Linked DNA regions of Homo sapiens: region 1 is linked to region 2. Evidence: promoter capture Hi-C in human tissues and cell types (Jung and others, 2019). All regions are on one chromosome and are shown on one strand. Each heading gives the region's core, a stretch centred on a gene start or on the middle of the fragment in contact. The rest is flanking DNA. Distances are from core to core; before and after follow the strand shown. Region 1 holds the start of CLIC6 (chloride intracellular channel 6). Region 2 overlaps LINC00649 (long intergenic non-protein coding RNA 649).

Region 1 (4,862 bases), core at 1,762-4,261, 710 kb before region 2:
CAGATTTGGGGTCACACAGCAGCACTGCGCTCCAGCTCTTCCCAGCAGCCTCTCAGGGGCTGGTGTCCTGAGGTTATGTCCCAGGGTCTTGAAAAAAGCCAGAAACAGCACCTTCTCACTAGGGAAGAAACACACACACACCCCTTCTTTCCCAAGCCCCTCGCCACCCAAACAATTCTTAAAATTCTGATGTTAATCACATTGGGAGCATTTCCTTTTACTTATTAAAATGTGCTTGCATTTCAGCCAGAGAGATTTAGATGGTAACTGGTTTCTATAAGCCTGGAAGTATTTCTGAAGGATTATGATTCAACATGAAATGCACATTCTTGACCTTATTATCTCCAACTTTCCTGGGTCTGGCCAAAGGTCCTCAGAAAAGGCTTTTTAAACAAAGATCCTGGTGTGAACTGCTGCTGAGCTTTGTTCTTTCATTTTTCATGCCTTGTAAATAATTCCTGTTTAAATTCAAAACTTCCTCAGTTGTGTCTCTACAGATTCCTTCACAGAATCCTTGCTCTCTTCCCATGTGAACTGAGGTTAAAAACATGACATACAAGCAGATGATGTTCAAGTCACCGGCATCTTGTATTCTTCCAAATTCAATGTTAAAACGTTCAAAAAACATTATGTCAATAAGGCTCCATTCCCCCCTAAACGTACATTGTTGATTCTACCAAAATGGAATACCTTTTTGGAGTTGAAAACATTGACCAGCTCTGGGTCTCCGAGATTGAGTCTGGAAGGCACCTCCCACATTGAACCTACCTGTCTGCGTTTTTTGGCTTCAAGTATTAAAGCTTCCTTTGGCAGAAATCCCTTTGAACACCAATAGGGTGCGTTGCTTTTCTTCTTCTTCTTCTTTTTTTTTTTTTTTTTTTTTAACTTTTTAGTTAATTCGTTAATAACCTCCTGACTAGGAGGGCTGGTTAGGATGTTCAGGTCAAAGGACAGTGGGATGCTGAACCCACAACCCCACATCCTCATTGGCCCCCATCGCACTCCCCGTCGCCCCCACCCCCAAAGTCTTTGCTTCCAAACCATTGAGTCCTCCCGCAAATGCCCTGGAAACTCTTCTCCGGGAAATCCCGGCTGTCCCGCCTACCGCCCGCGCATGGAAGCGCCTGATGACAATCAGGATACCACCAAGGGTTCCTCCCTGCGCGTCCCTCTGGGATCTGAGATGACCAAGACCTCGAATGGAAGGGGGTCGTCCTAAGAATTGAGGGAAGCGAGCTTTACCTTGACGAAGAGGGTGATGTCGTGCTCCTGCCCCAGGGCCCGGGGCTCGGACGCCTCTCCGTCCTCCCGGCGGCCGTTCACGCGCGCGGCCTCGCCGCTACCCTCGGCGGGGCCCTCCTCGGCCAGGTGGTTGCTGAGCTGGGCCTCAGGCTCCGCGGCGCCCCTGGAGGCCTCCCCATGTGGGCTGCTGTCGGGGGATTCCTCTTCGCCCCCCGCTGCTTCCTCCTCCCTTGGCCCCTCCGGGCTCCGCTCTCGTCTCTCTTCGTCCTCCCCCGGCTCCTGCTGTGGCCCATCCCCTACCCTGTCCTCGCCAGCGTCTGCCCTTGCGTCCCCGGGGGCCGCTTCTTCGGACCCCTTTACCCCCGGGACCTCCGCCTCCTCCGCTGCGTCCCAGGCGAGCTCACCGGGGCTGCGCCCCGCACTCTCCCCGGCTGCGACCTCAATTGCCTCGGCCTGGGGCGAGAGGCTGCCGTCCCCCGATTGCTGCGGCTCACCCGAGACCCGGCGCGCCCTTCCTGCCGGACCCTCGGCGTCCATGCTGTCCCCCGCCGGGCCTTCGGCTTCTACGCTGTCCCCCGCCGGGACCCCCGCTTCTACGCCGTCCCCCGCCGGGTCCCCCGCCTCTACGCTGTCCCCCACCCGGCCCTCCGCGTCTACGCTGTCCCCCGCCGGACCTTCCGCGTCTACGCTGTCCCCCACCCGGCCCTCCGCGTCTACGCTGTCCCCCGCCGGGCCCTCGGCTTGTATGTTGTCCCCCAGCGGGCCCTCCGCGTCTACGCTGTCCCCCGCCGGACCTTCCGCGTCTACGCTGTCCCCCACCCGGCCCTCCGCCTCTACGCTGTCGCCCGCCGGGCCCTCCGCTTCTATGTTGTCCCCCAGCGGGCCCTCCGCGTCTACGCTGTCCCCCGCCTCCCCGGACGCGCTACCTTCCGGGACCTCAGGCCTCTGCTCCGCCTCCTCCTGCCTCTCGGGGGCCGCAGAGTCCTCGGGCTCCCTCTGAGCCTCCCCGCGGGGCTCGCCCTGCGCGCCGCGTCCCGGGCTCGCCCCCTCCACCTGCTGCGCGCCGCTTGTCTCCTCCCCTCCTTGGGGCACCTCGGCACCCTCCGGGGCTCCCTCCTCGGCCTCAGTCTCGCCGTGCGCCCCCCTCGTGCCCCGCGCCTCGGCCTCCGGGCCCCTGTCTGGCCCGCCGCCTCCTGCCTCCTTCACAGCGGCGGCGCCCCTCGGCGCCTCCTCTGCGCCCTCGCTCCCCTCCGGCCCTTCTGCCTCCCCGCCCGCGGCTCCTGGCTCTCCGGGTCTCTCAGCCAGAGGCGCGGGGACCTCCGGCGGCCCCTGGGGACCCGGGGCAACCCCCTCCGGCTCCGCGGCCTCGGCCATGGCCGCAGATCCCTGTCCTTGATCGGGACTCCTTCCTTGACGCTGCTTAAGGGTCGGTGGCGCTGGGCAAGGGGCGTGCTACGGGGCCCTCTGTGCTCCTTGAAGGACGCCGGCTCCGGGATCCTGCGGCAAAGGTTTAGCCGGGGCACTGGGGCCTTGCGCAGGACCCGCAGGGCAAACTCCGCTTGGCCCCAAGCCTCTGCGCCCCTTCTGCCCAGCTGAAACTCCCTGGACTCTTCCTCCACTGCTGGAGCTTCTCCCCGATTGCGCGTCTGCTTCCCACCGGGACCCCAATCTCGCCCGCGGGCCGCGGAGGTGCAGTGCACGGCTGGAGAGGGCTGCTTCGCTCCTGCGCCTTTGGAAGTGCCCGGCCCGCTGTCCGCTGTCCTGGGGTTGACCAGAAGTCCTTGGTGCCAACTCCATCCCCTGGGGCTTGGGCGGGGTTTGTCTTCCCCTCCTCCCTCCTTTGTTTGGGTAGCCTAGGAGCTTGGCCAATGACAGCCTTTCTCGTGACCCTTGTGGATGTTGATGAAAAGATTCTGGTTCTCCTGGCCGCTTGGGTGTTGTTCTCTAGAATGGCTTCAAGTTCCAGAGTCACTTAAATCACCCCCTCCAAACACACACCCCGACACCCAAACACCTAATCCCCACCTTACCCCAGGAGTGAAGCATCAAGCTCCCCCGGTACCCAACTGAAGATGTCCACATTGTGCCTGATGTCCAAGAGCAAGGGTGTAAATCCCTGAGAGAAGAAGCTGGGGAGGCTACGCTGGCCGCCTTCCCATGTCTGCAGGGCCCCCGGAGAGGTTCCAGAGGCCCCTCATATAGACGCACAAGGAGCCAGTCGAGTTTCTCTGACCAGAGATGGGCGCTGTTGTCCATGAGGGTCCGCTTCTCCGGGCCTGTCTGGAGGATCGTGGGAGCCCTGCGCTGGAAAAAGGTTACACCTTCATCTCCCGGGTCTCTTAAGACTGTAAGAGTCTGTGTATCTTGCTGATTCTCCTAGATTTCTAAACTCACCACCAGTGCTTCTGCCTCCAAGTTAAGAGCTTGGGAATCTGGAGGTGGAGAAAAGAAAATCCAAGATGTGAAAGAGGGGAGCTATGGAATTCCCTGGGTTAGGGTTCTCCCAGGATCACAGACCCAATACCTACTTTAAAAAGGAAGTTATTATGGTGAAAAGTATGTCGTAAGTTTATTATAAGCCAGGCTACTTCTAGTGGGTTACCAAGAAACTGGGTTACCCAAGGTGGCACTATGTAAATGTGGTGGAACGGGGATCCCAGCTCAAGACTGACTTGATTCATCAGGCTTTATATGGCTTTGATATTGGCCTAAGATACATGAGCCCCTCATGCCCACAGAAGGTTGTTTTCGTTGAAAGAGCTGGGTGTGCCTTTGATGTGGCTTGGGGTCACACCTTTGGCCATGAACATAATGTGTCTCCTTCTACTTCCCATTGCTCATCACTGATGGATGACAGGACAGGAGCCCAGAGACACTCAGCTTCATGCTACCTTTCTCCAAGGCTGTGCTCTGTCTGGGTAGGTACAGGCCAGAAGCTTCATCACCACAAAGTGGCATCTAGTCAAAGCATGACACTCACACAGGTGAGCCAGAGATGCACGTGAGCCGTAAAAGCTCTAGGCACCTAGAAAAGGAATCCTGCTGCATTCACCGGGGCAAGGTAGCAGCCATCACCCTTATCTTGTAAAGAAAGATGAAGCCAGCACGTTCAGCCCGGAACAGCAAACACAGTACAGGTTTACAGTGCTTTATGCAAATCCCATGAGCCCGGATGTGTTTCAGAAAACAGAATTGTTAGAAAGATGATTGAGTGATTTTACTGTATATTACATAACACAGAACATCACTTTGTGATCAAACACATTAATATTTCTGCAGTAAGACAGGCATCACATTTGGTGAGATATGGTAAAATCATACAAGCTTCAGGCCCCCCACCCCCAGTTTAGGTTCACCTCCAGCTGAGTTCAAGCCTTTCTGGTTCTGATTCTAGATGAGTTCCCAAAACAGCTTTCAGTATTCAGAGCCTTTTAGGATTTCAGAATGTGTATAAAAGGATTGTGGACCTGTGAACCATTGAAGGGCTCTGGGTTTATTTGCGCTGCTTAGAAAAATGTGAGATTAGTTAGATACATAACTTTGTCCTTAATAACAAACCGTCTTCAATGCTCAATGTTTACAAAGAACCAAATTAAAGACACTCATGCGAGTAATAATAT
Region 2 (5,383 bases), core at 1,250-3,749:
TTATAAATATTTCAAACATATAGAATATAATAGCAAGTAACAGAATTAACTCACAGGTATCTACCACTTGGTTCTATCATTTCATCATATTTGCTTTATATTGTTTCCTTTTTTAACCTATGTCATATTTAAATTAGCTTTTTGTAGACAGCTTATATTTGAGTCTTCTTTTTTATCCAATCTGACAATCTCTGTTTTTTTAGTGGTATGTTTAGCTCATTTACATTTAATGTAATTATTGGTATGGTTGAATTTATGTCTATTATTGTATTATGTGGTTTCTGTTTGTCCTCTGTGTGTTTTGGTTCTGTTCCATTGTTCCTGCCTTCTTTTGAATTACTTAAAGTTTTTAGTATTTCATTTTAATGTATCTGTTGCCTTTTTTGGCAATATCTCTTTGTGTGTGTGTGTGTGTGTATAGTGACTGTTCTAGATATTGCAATATGCATTCCTAGTGTTTTACAGTCTACTTCAAGTTACTATTTTACCAATTCAAAGTAAAATGTAGGAGCCTGACAAACATATACATACTTTTACCCTCCCCCTTTATGTTATACCTGTCATATGTTTATATCTATATACATTGAGAACCTCACCAATGTTATGATTTTTGCCTTCAACAGCCATAAATATTTAAAGAATTTAAAAGGATAAAAATAGGGTATTTTATTTAGCTCAATATTTACCATTTCTGTTGCTCTTCCTTCATTCCTGAAGTTTCAAGTTTCCCTCTGGTATCATTTACCTTCAGCCTGTAAGACTCTCTTTAGCATTTATTTTAGAGCAGGTTTAATACCAAAGAATTCTCTCACTTTTTCTTAATCTGAGAATGTATTTATTTTACCATCATTCCTGAAGGATATTTTTTCTGAATATAGAATTCTGGGTTAAAAGCTCCTTTCTTTAAGCACTTTAAAAATGTTATTCTACTGTCTTCTAGCCTCCATGGTTTCTGGTGAGAAATACTCAGTCATATGAATCCTTGTTCCCCTATATATAATGTGTTACTTATTTCTGGCTGCTTTCAAGATTTTTCAATTATATCTGGTTTTCAACAGTGTGTGATGCATCTGGACATGATTTCCTTTTGGTTTATTCTGTTTGAGACTTGCTGAGCTTCTTAAATCTACAAATGTATGTTTTTCCGAAATGTAAGACATTTTCAGCTATTAATTCTTCAAATATATATTTTTTTCATAATCCAGTCTCTTTTCTCTTTCCTTTTGGTGCTACAAGAACAAGAATGTCAGACCTTTTGGTCTTGTACCACAGGCCACTGAGATTCTATTAATTTTTTTCAATCATTTTTTCTCTCTGTCCTTGAGACCAGATAATTTTTATAGATACATCTTCAAGTTCACTGACTCCTCTGCCATCTCCATTCTGCTATTAAGCCCATTCAATGAGTTTTGTTTTTCAGATATTACAATTTTCATTTTCAAAAGTTGTATTGTATTCTTTTATAATAGTTTCTATTTCTTTGCCAAACACTTTTTTCTTTCCATTTTAAGGTGTTTACCTTTACCTCATGGGCTTGGTTATAACAAGTAAAGTATTTGTCTGATAACTTCAGCATCTGGGCCATCTCAGGATTAACATAATCGATTGCCTTTTCCTTTAAAAAATAATCACATTTTCCTGGTTCTTTATGTGTCAAGTAAGTTTGGATTGTATCTTGTACATTTCTAATATTATTCCATGAAATTCTAGATTCTCCTTGTAAAACTTCTAGAGAATGTTGGTTTCGATTTGTTTAGCAGGCCATTAACCCTGTTGTGTTCAGATCACAGGTTCTGTCTTGCCTTCTGTTTGCAGGGTTCTAGTGTCAGGTCAGTTGTGAAAATCTTTGCAGTAGTACTTTTAGGTCTGTCCTGGGTATATACAACTTGAGGCTGAGCTCAAGATTTGTGTTGGTCCATACACAGAACTAAGGAATCCCTCTTCTCCAGCATTTCCCCTACTCCAGGAGCCCCCAGTCCCTGGGCCATGGACCATTACAGGTCTACACAACAGAAGGTGAGCTGTAAGCAAGCGAGTGAAGCTTTATCTGTATTTACAGCCAGTCCCCATCTCTCCCATTACTGCCTGATCCCCTGTCAAATCAGCAGAGCCATCAGATTCTTATAGGAGCACAAACTCTGTTGTGAACTGTGCATGCAAGGGATCTAGGTTGCATGCTCTTTATGATAATCAAATGCCTGATGATCTGTCACTGTCTCCCATCACCCCCAGATGGGACCGTCTAGTTGCAGGAAAACGAGCTCAGCACTCCCACTGATTCTACCTTATGGTGAGTTGCATAATTACTTCATTATATGTTACAATGTAATAACAATAGAAATAAAAGGGCACAATAAATGTAACGCACTTGAATCATCCTGAAACCATCCCCCTACCCAGGTCCATGGACAAATTTTCTTCCATGAAACTGGTCCCCAGTGCCAAAAAGGTTGGGGACTGCTGCCCTATTATCTAGTTCCCAGGGATCCATTTTCTCAGTCCTCTGGCCAGAAATACAGGGTTTTTCTCAGGATTTTAGGTCCACAACTAGGCTGCCCTCAGATCAAAGTTGGGAAATAGAATGGGGGAAAATGAGAAATTCAGCTCTGAACAATTCATTCTTCAAGTTTTGACTCCCTTCCTCAGTCTGCATGCTATGACTTTTCCAAGTCTTAAGTATTTTCTGCTTTTAAAAGTTTTAGTTATAATCAGTGGGAGAGAGAGAGGCTTAGAGGTTAGACTCCTTCTGGATCAGGACAGGAAGCTGATCTCTTATTTAAGGTTGTTTTAAGCACTACATATACCGCTGAGGCCCCTAATATGTCCCTCCCCCATCCCCTTTTCCTCCTTCCAACTGCAGAAAAACCTACAGCCTGAATGTAGGATCTATTGCCCCCATGTATTTTATGTTTTTTATGAAGATCCATGAATATGGTATAGTATAGTTTTATGGGTTTTTAAGCTTTACATAAATAGCTTCATGATATAAATATCCAGTACATGGTCAAAATCTGTATATTTTCTGTATCTGCTTAGAAAGAATGTATATTCTCTAACTTTTTTCAGTGGGGGGCGGGGTGGTTGTTGTTTGAGACGAAGTCTCGCTCTGTTGCCCAGGCTGGAGTACAGTGACATGATCTCGGCTCACTACAACCTCCACCTCCCGGGTTCAAGCGATTCTCATGCCTCAGCCTCCTGAGTAGCTGAGATTACAGGTGCCCGCCACCATGCCCAGCTAATTTTTGTATTTTTAGTAGACCCGGAGTTTTGCCATGTTGGCCAGGCTGGTCTGGAACTCCTGACCTCAAATGATCCACCCACCTCAGCCTCCCAAAGTGCTGGGATTACAAGCATGAGCCACTGCACCCGGCCTATTCTCTGATTGTTGAGTGTAAAATTACACATATAATTATTGTTCAAGCTTCTTATATTGTTTATATGTTCCATAATCATACTAATTCTCTGTCTTCTTGGTTTATCAATTACTATGAGAGGTATGTTAAAATCTCTCACTACAAGTATGGATTTGTCTATTTTTCCTCCTAATTTTGTAAAATTTTGCTACATATGTTTTAAGGTGATCTTGCTAGGTCAATGGAGGTGAATGTATCTTAATGAACTGTTCCTTTTATCATATGTAGTGACTATTTTTCTCTTTAAAGTGTTTTTATACATGTATTAAAAAGTCCATTTTGTCTGTTATTACTATAGCCGAACTAGTTTTCTTTTGATTAGTATTCCCCTGGTGTGTATTTTCTACCTTTCTGCGTCACTCTCTAAACAAGAGGCATACTAGAATACTAGACTGCATGTGCGTGTGTGTGTGTGTGTGTGTGTGTGTGTGTGTGTGTGTGTTTAACCTATTCTAACAATCTCTTTTTTTTTTTTTTTAGACAGGGTCTAACTGTGGTGCCCAGGCTGGTCTCAAACTCCTAGACTCAAGCAGTCCTCCCACACCATCCTCCCAAGTAGCTGAGACTTCAAGCCATGAGCCACCACACCTAGCTTCTGTCTTTTAACTGAATAATTTATTCTATTTATATGCATTATGATTACTCATATATTTAGTTTTATTACCATTGCTTTATTTTATACTTCCTACTTACTCTGTCTTTTCTTTGTTTCTTTTCTCTGTCTCTTGGATTGTTTGAGTTTTACTGATTCCTCCTTTATCCTCTAAACTATACATATATATTTTTTTAATTCTGCTCAAGAGTAATCAGACTGATTGATTTTTAGGATTTAAGTCTTAAACCAATTCTAAAAAATTTTTAGCCAGTTTCACTTTGACTGCTGCCTCTTCCCCATTACCTTTTTTTTTTTTTTTTTTTTTGAGACAGAATCTCGTCTGTCACCCAGGCTGAAGTGCAATGGCACAATCTTAACTCACTGCAACCTCCATCTCCTGGGTTCAAGTGATTCTCCTGCCTCAGCCTCCTGAGTAGCTGGGATTATAGGCTCCCACCACCACAACTGGCTAATTTTGTATATTTTTTAAGTAGAGATGGGGTTTCACCATGTTGCCCACACTGGTCTTGAACACTTGACCTCAAGTGATCCACCCACCTTGGCCTCCCAAAGTGCTGGGATTACAGGCATGAGCCACCATGCCCGACCCCATTATCTATCTTCTTACCTTCTGGAAACCCCATTACATGTATATTAGAATTTCTCATTCTGTCCTACTTGTCTCTTAATCTCTCTTTCATATTTTCCATCTCTTAATCTCTCTAAACTGCTTTCTGTGAAATTTCCTGTACCTTCCAAGTCCCTAATTCCCCTTCAGCTGTCTCTAATCTGTCCATTGAGTTTTTAATTTTAATGACTATATACTTTTCATTTTTATTAATATTATTCTTTTTCAAATCTGCCTCCTCCTTTTAATAGTCTTATTCTCTTTATCAATTTTCAATTCCTTTTTAAGTCTTTAATAATTTTAAATATATTTATTTTATAGTATATTTGATAGTTCTATTATCTTAAGTTCTTGAAACATAATCCATCAGTTGCTTGGTCGGCTGACTCTTGCTCATGGTAAATTGATTCCTCGTATGTTTTGTAATTGGATTGTGAACTTATATTTAGTAGGACTCTGTTTGTAGCAATCTTCAACTGCCTGAATTGAGGGAATGTTCCTCCAGAGAAGATTTTTTATTGCTTCTGACAGACATTGCAGGGATACCATCACTGCTTGATACCACTTCTATATTAATCTTTTATCTTAAGAATTCCCAGACCAAATGGGTAATATACATTTGAACCTTGAACCTACATGAAGAATTTATAGTATGTTACGTACTGAATGTTTATGTCCCTCCAAAATTCACATGTTGAAGCCCTAACCCCCAATATATTGTATTTGAAAATGGGGCTTTGGGGAAGT

The links. The method cuts DNA at HindIII sites, captures the fragments that hold promoters and counts their contacts. A contact is called where the count stands out against the background at its distance.
Region 1: a contact is called between the fragment with the promoter of CLIC6 here and a fragment that was not itself captured in region 2, in 1 of the 25 tissues and cell types used here (dorsolateral prefrontal cortex).

Annotation. Positions count from the first base shown.
Region 1 is chr21:34,667,143-34,672,004 of GRCh38, reverse strand. It overlaps CLIC6 (chloride intracellular channel 6), which reads right to left and starts at 3,011. Exons shown (of 6, transcript NM_053277.3): 1 at 1,243-3,011. The coding sequence starts at 2,616. RefSeq lists silencers at 1,299-1,378, 2,279-2,718. The HindIII fragment of the contact is 4,429 bases long and covers 1-4,372 here.
Region 2 is chr21:33,954,697-33,960,079 of GRCh38, reverse strand. All of the region lies in intron 2 of LINC00649 (long intergenic non-protein coding RNA 649), which reads right to left. Among named protein-coding and RNA genes, the nearest start is that of LINC00649, 26 kb to the right of the region's middle. The HindIII fragment of the contact is 4,732 bases long and covers 134-4,865 here.